Linked DNA regions of Homo sapiens: region 2 is linked to region 1. The links are contacts of gene promoters, found by promoter capture Hi-C in human tissues and cell types (Jung and others, 2019). All regions are on one chromosome and are shown on one strand. Each heading gives the region's core, a stretch centred on a gene start or on the middle of the fragment in contact. The rest is flanking DNA. Distances are from core to core; before and after follow the strand shown. Region 1 holds the start of SAP30 (Sin3A associated protein 30). Region 2 overlaps GALNT7 (polypeptide N-acetylgalactosaminyltransferase 7).

The links. The method cuts DNA at HindIII sites, captures the fragments that hold promoters and counts their contacts. A contact is called where the count stands out against the background at its distance.
Region 2: a contact is called between a fragment that was not itself captured here and the fragment with the promoter of SAP30 in region 1, in 4 of the 25 tissues and cell types used here (aorta, mesenchymal stem cells, mesendoderm cells and 1 more).

What each region holds. Positions count from the first base shown.
Region 1 is chr4:173,369,611-173,372,446 of GRCh38, reverse strand. SAP30 (Sin3A associated protein 30) reads right to left here and starts at 1,493. Exons shown (of 4, transcript NM_003864.4): 1 at 950-1,493. The coding sequence starts at 1,264. SAP30-DT (SAP30 divergent transcript) reads left to right here and starts at 1,749. Exons shown (of 4, transcript NR_183973.1): 1 at 1,749-2,155. RefSeq lists enhancers at 383-682, 386-949, 2,033-2,272 and silencers at 803-1,182, 1,463-1,632. The HindIII fragment of the contact is 15,433 bases long and covers 1-2,836 here.
Region 2 is chr4:173,284,843-173,287,678 of GRCh38, reverse strand. All of the region lies in intron 2 of GALNT7 (polypeptide N-acetylgalactosaminyltransferase 7), which reads right to left. LOC124900812 (a long non-coding RNA gene) reads left to right here. Exons shown (of 3, transcript XR_007058367.1): 1 at 1-2,836. Among named protein-coding and RNA genes, the nearest start is that of MIR548T, 18 kb to the right of the region's middle. The HindIII fragment of the contact is 4,128 bases long and covers 1-2,836 here.

The sequences.
Region 1 (2,836 bases), core at 244-2,743:
CATGGATAACACTGAAAACTGTTTAAACGGGCAAAAAGTGTCACAAATAAACTTTTCAAAAACTTTAATTACATATACTCCTGCGAGCTGTAGACTAGCATTTGAAACAAACACGGACTGAGCTAACAGGCTTTTACATTTACTTCTAAGCCAAGCGCAAGATAAAAATATGCAGGACTTGTGGTAGGTTCTCGATACCATGTTATTCATTTACCGCTAGCCAGATCTCCCAAAAGTAGCAACGGCTGTTTCTAAAAACCTCATAGATGGTCAAACGAAAAGACGTGCAAAAAATCCTGATGGCTGCCAAGGGGATGGCAAAACCGCAGAGGCTACGTGCTCCCCACCATCGGAGTAGCTGCCCTCGGAGCTGACAGCGCAAACGCCGTTTACAACCCCGGCTCACTGCCAGGCGGCGGGTGAGCTCGGCTTCCCTCTCACTCCGCTCCGGAGGAGACGGAACACAGAAAAGAACAGGATCTTCCTTGTTCGTGAAGGTCCTCCGCTTTCTCCTAGACGACGGGATTTAGTACCGCCTGGGGCCAAACACCAGCTTGGGCAGCAAAACAAAGGCGCCTCCATTCCAGAAGAGCTGCCGGGCTGCAAGAAAACTACTCTGGGCCCTCAGTGCGCCGGTCCCCTTTGTTTCGTGTCCCGGTCGCAGAGGAGAAGGAAGAGGGAAGACTGCGCGGGAGAGACGCAGGCAGCGGGAGGTTGGGGGCCAGGGTGGGAAAGAAGAGGGGAACGACAGCCTGTGTGTGGTGTGTGTGTTGGGGTGGCGGTAGGAGTTGCAGCGACTTTGTTATTTGCTTCCAAACACAGACTCCACGAGACCGCACTGCAGCCAGTGCGGTTGTCTGGGGGACCCCGCCGACAACCCGTGCCTTTGCCCGGCTCCTGGGGCCCCACCGAGGGGCGGGAGGGCAGGGCGGTCCCGCGGTTTACTTACGCTCTTATCCAGCTCGATCTTCACCTTCTTCTGGGAGATGCTCTTCTGGATCCTCTTGCTGAAGCTGGCGTTGCCTGCCGCCCGGCCGCACCGCTCACCATCCTCCCGCAGGCAGCACAGTTGCCCGGGGCCCGGCCCGGCCGCCCCCGGGGGCCCAGCCGCTGAGACCGCCCCCGCGCCCGGCACCTCAGCCCCGGTGCCCGCGCCGGTCCCGTTCCCCGCCGAGGCGGCGGCGGCCGCGGCAGCGACCACTGCGGCCACTGCGGCGGCCGCATCCCCGCCGCGGCTCATCTCGTCAGGCGTGAAGCCGTTCATGTCTCCGAGCTCCCGAGGCCGGCGCTGACAGAAATCCCCTCTCTCCTGGCCGCTCCGCCTCTCTCCGCTCCGGCAGCGGCAATTCACTCTGCACACCAAGTTAGACAGCGGCACGGCCAAACACCAACTGTCCCGGGCCTGCTGGTCTCTGCTGGCACCGAAACAGTGGACAGTGCTGAGGGCCGGGACGCAGACTCGAGCGTCTCCTGGAGCGGGGACCCCGCTCACTGTCACATGGGGACTTCAGCAGTTGGACCGCTACGCCTCCGCCTCCCTCCGGCCCCGGGACCTGCGCAAGCGCGACGCGCCCCCTCCCGTCCCGCCCCTTTCTTTCTGCCGCGCGGCCCCATGGGAATTGTAGTTCTCTGCTGCAGAGTCAACCTGAGCTCCGCCCTGACCCCGCGCCATGAGGGACGGAGGAACTACTAATCCTAGCATGCATAGCGCGGCCACGGACCCACTTTTTTTTTTTTTTTTTTTTTTCAGTACCGGGAAAACAGGAGCGTGTGATTGGGGTTTACAGTGTTTTCTCTCGCTCTCTCTGTTTCTAGGGAATTCGGGCTGTGTTTAGCTGCTGGAATATCGTAGAATTGGTTTTCAGAGAAGTTCCTCGACTCCTGAGGCGAAACATAAAGGGATGGGAGTGGTGTGGGAAGTGATCGTGTGGGGAAAAAAAAGTTTCGAGCCCGTTTCGCATTTGTGGAGACAGAGTTTTTGGTGTGACCACTCTTTTGTGGGAAACCCAAACCAAGGAGAACTCAGGAGAATTGGCGCTCTTCGGTCCTGGAGGTTCCGCAGCTAACATCCCGGCTTGACCAACTATCGAGGCCGCAAATTAATAGGGCACCTCCTGGGAGGAAAACGCCCATCCTGACTTCTCAACTGTGACAGGTCCCCCTCACAAACGCCTTGCGGGGGGGTGGGGGGGCGTTTCTAAACACTTGCATGTTCTTACAAGGGAAATGTTTTTATTCTTGGGCGCACCAAGTTGGCCGCCTCCTGAGGTGGAGTACGGACCAGTTGACAACAGGGCTCCTTTTCACCTCCACGCCCAACCTTTTCCATTTCTCCTCAAACGGTTTTGGAGAAGGGCGGAGTCATATCATTTTAAAGGAAACTTGGAACCTCACCAATACAAACGCTGGTCGAATGTTCCCAGAAACTTCCCTGCATTAGCTCTACCGGGCGCGGGGAGCAGAAAGCGCATTTCCTGAGTCCTGAAAAGCGCGTGCGCGCCTGTGTGCTGCCGGCGTTTGGGCGCGCCTGCTTGTATGTATGTGTTCGCGGGCGCGCGCGTGTGTACGTGTGTGTGCGCGCGTACGCGTGTATGTTCCTGCGCGCTTGCGGGGACGTGCTTGTGGAGGGCGGAGAGAGGGATGGGCGTGGCTAATATGAAAGCTGCATCTTTACTAGTTAGCTACCATGCGTCATTATTTATCAAAAGATATATGCTGCTTAAACACAAATACGTTTTAAAATATATTTTAGGCAGTAGGGTTTTGGGTTTTTTTTTTGCAAGTTCTTTTGGTGAGTAAATTTAGTGATAAATGATTTTTTTTTCTTTTGAGACAG
Region 2 (2,836 bases), core at 160-2,659, 85 kb after region 1:
GACCATAAATGAAGGTCATACTTGCAAACATGGGGCGGCACCTATGAAGGATGGTCACTGGGACCCAAAGGACGGGAGGAAGGGGGTGAAGGGGGATGCCCCTCCAGCCTTTCCCTCCATCTTGGGTCACTCTGAAGAGAAGGAGACTGAGGGATGCCTCTTCTCTTGCCTCTTTTCTACATGGATAACACCCCATCTTCAAGTCTGCACTACCCCTGAGTGCAGCCTGGATCTCCTTTAGTCCTCAGACCCTAAAGTTCACTCGGGGCAAGCCCCAACTTCACTGCCGTATAGAGGCCTTCCAAGATTTAACCCAAGTATTTAAACTCTCCTGGATGTTCCAGGGATGGAGAAGCAAGTGGGGAAAATACCAGTGCCCTTGGAGGACCATAAATGGGACCATGATGATAGCATCAGAAAATGGGGAAGGAAACTCTTTCAAATGTGTATATTGGAGAACTTGCAGGGGATTAGAGCCAAACCTATTAACTCTTCCAAGCTTTCCATGATAGTCCAAAAGCTAAATAAAAATCTTTAAACCTTTTTATTCAATAAAGAACAGGTTTATTACTCAGACAGCCCTTAATATGGGAAGAAAGTTGCTGAAACAGGCCCTGTCCAAAGATCTAATTTTTCTCACCCTCGAGTTGAAACTTTGCAGTACATAAATAACACTCTCCTCTGTCCCCCAACCAAGGAAGTCTCAGGGAGGCACTGAGGCTCTCTTCAGTTTCTTAGCTGAAAGGGGATATAGGGTCTGAAAATCTAAAGCTTGGCTCTGTCAGACTTCAGTAAAGTACCTAGGTCTAGTCTTATCAGAAGGGACTAGAGCATCAGGTGAAGAAAGGATGCCCATTTCCTTTAACAGTTGAGGGGATTCTTAGGCATTAGTGGATTTTGCAGACTGTGTGTACCTGGATACCGTGAAATAGCTTGCCCTTTATACCACCTCATAACGAAACTCAAGCAGTTAAAACTCACTCACTAACTTGGGAACCTGCCTTTAACCAACTAAAGCAAGCCTTACTTAAAGCATCAACCCCCAGTCTTCCCAAAGGAAAAGCATTCAGTCTCTATGCTTCAGAAAAGAAGGAAATGGCCCTGGGAATTCTGGCTGAAGCTTGAGGTCCAGCTCAACAGCCAGTGGGTTACCTAAGTGAGGAACTTAACTTGGTGGCTAAAGGCTGGTTAGCCTGCCTCTAAGCAGTTACAATGGCAGCTTTGTTGGTGCCAGAGGCCACTGGGTTACCCATGGGAAACAACTGTTTACAACCCATACAATATAGCAGGAGTGCTGCCCTCTAAGGAAAGTCCCTGGCTAACAGACAATCGCCTCCTTAACTATCAAGCTTTGCTACTGGAGGGATCTGTGGTCCAGAGGAAAACCTGCCCTTGCTAGAGCCGAGCCATTTTCTCCCAAAGGAAACTGGAGAACTTGAACATGATTGTGAAAAGGTAGTGGTGCAAACCAGTAAAAGGAATGATGAAGATCACTGTTTACATTCTCTGTAAAATTTTAATTAATGAGAAAGGATTTTCTTAAAGAATGCTCAGCTTACCTCAAAGTGGATATCCGAGCTATGGGTATATGTAAAAGGCCTTTATGTTTTTCTCTTCATAGATCTTGTTTTTCTGGAAAAGGTTTTTTGTTGTTGTTGTTTTTTTTCAGTCAACTGAATTACTTTTTTCCACTGTGTCTTATCATTCTTGATGCATACGTGAAAGACCCTAGAATGACTTCTGGTGGCCTGGGACTCCCTGGGAAATAGATTAAGGTGCCACAAATCCCATTTTGGAGAAATCCCTGTTTTCCTCATGGAACCCCTGGAATTAGAGGTGGATAAGCCCCTCTCAACATCTGTCTTTGTCTTCTGGCTGTGCTTGTTTATTAAGCCCTGAAAACTATATTCATACCCCTGTTCGTAAAAGGGCTCCACCCTGAGCTGCTGGATCTTCTTCTGTCTGTCTGTGTAGTCATACATGTGATATATATGTGAAGTCTATAAAAAGGCCAATTAATTGGCCTAAGAATAATAAGCACTGAAATAAAATATTTTGCAGTAAAAGTAAAAGCTGTGGTACCTTTCAGTTCATATGACTTTAATATTTAAAATAAAAACAGACAAGAATTATTGGTAAAATACAAACGTCTTCAAGGTGTAAAAATGTGGTCTAATTTATTATGCAGGTCAGATACTAGCTTTGCTAAATGTTTTAAGGTTGCAAACTGCTTCTTTGGCCTTTTAAAAACTGTCAACTTGCCTGCTTCACAATTAGTATGGTCTGGGAACAAATAGAAGTGACCATGCTCCTAACTACGCTGAAAGGAATCAGACTTTATCTGCATCTAGCACATAATTAAAACAACTTACCAGGCTTTACATTAAAGTTAAAAATCGCTAAGAGTTACCATTATGACATGTAATTGAGACTACTGAACATGGATTTGCATGCAAGGTGTGTAAAAACAGCAAAATGTGTTTTTAGTTAAAAGATTATAAGAAGGCATGGAAATGTCCATTTTGCCTAGAGATAAAGGATTGTCTTAAATTAGATAAAATAAAGCAGAAGGTTTAAGCAAATTGTGAAAAGACTGTAAATATTAATCTTGCAAAGGAAACTATGTGTGTGAACATATTGACTAAATTCAAAAGGGTATTATATATTTTTTTCTGTAAATTAAACTTTGAAATAAAAGCACAACAAGGTTTTCTTACGATGCTGACCTACTCTTCAGCAAAACTTGTAAAGGGTTATAAAATAACCATACAAAAAAATGTATGTAAAAATCTCACCTCATGGTCAAACTGGTTAAGATTGAATAGGATTGTCTATA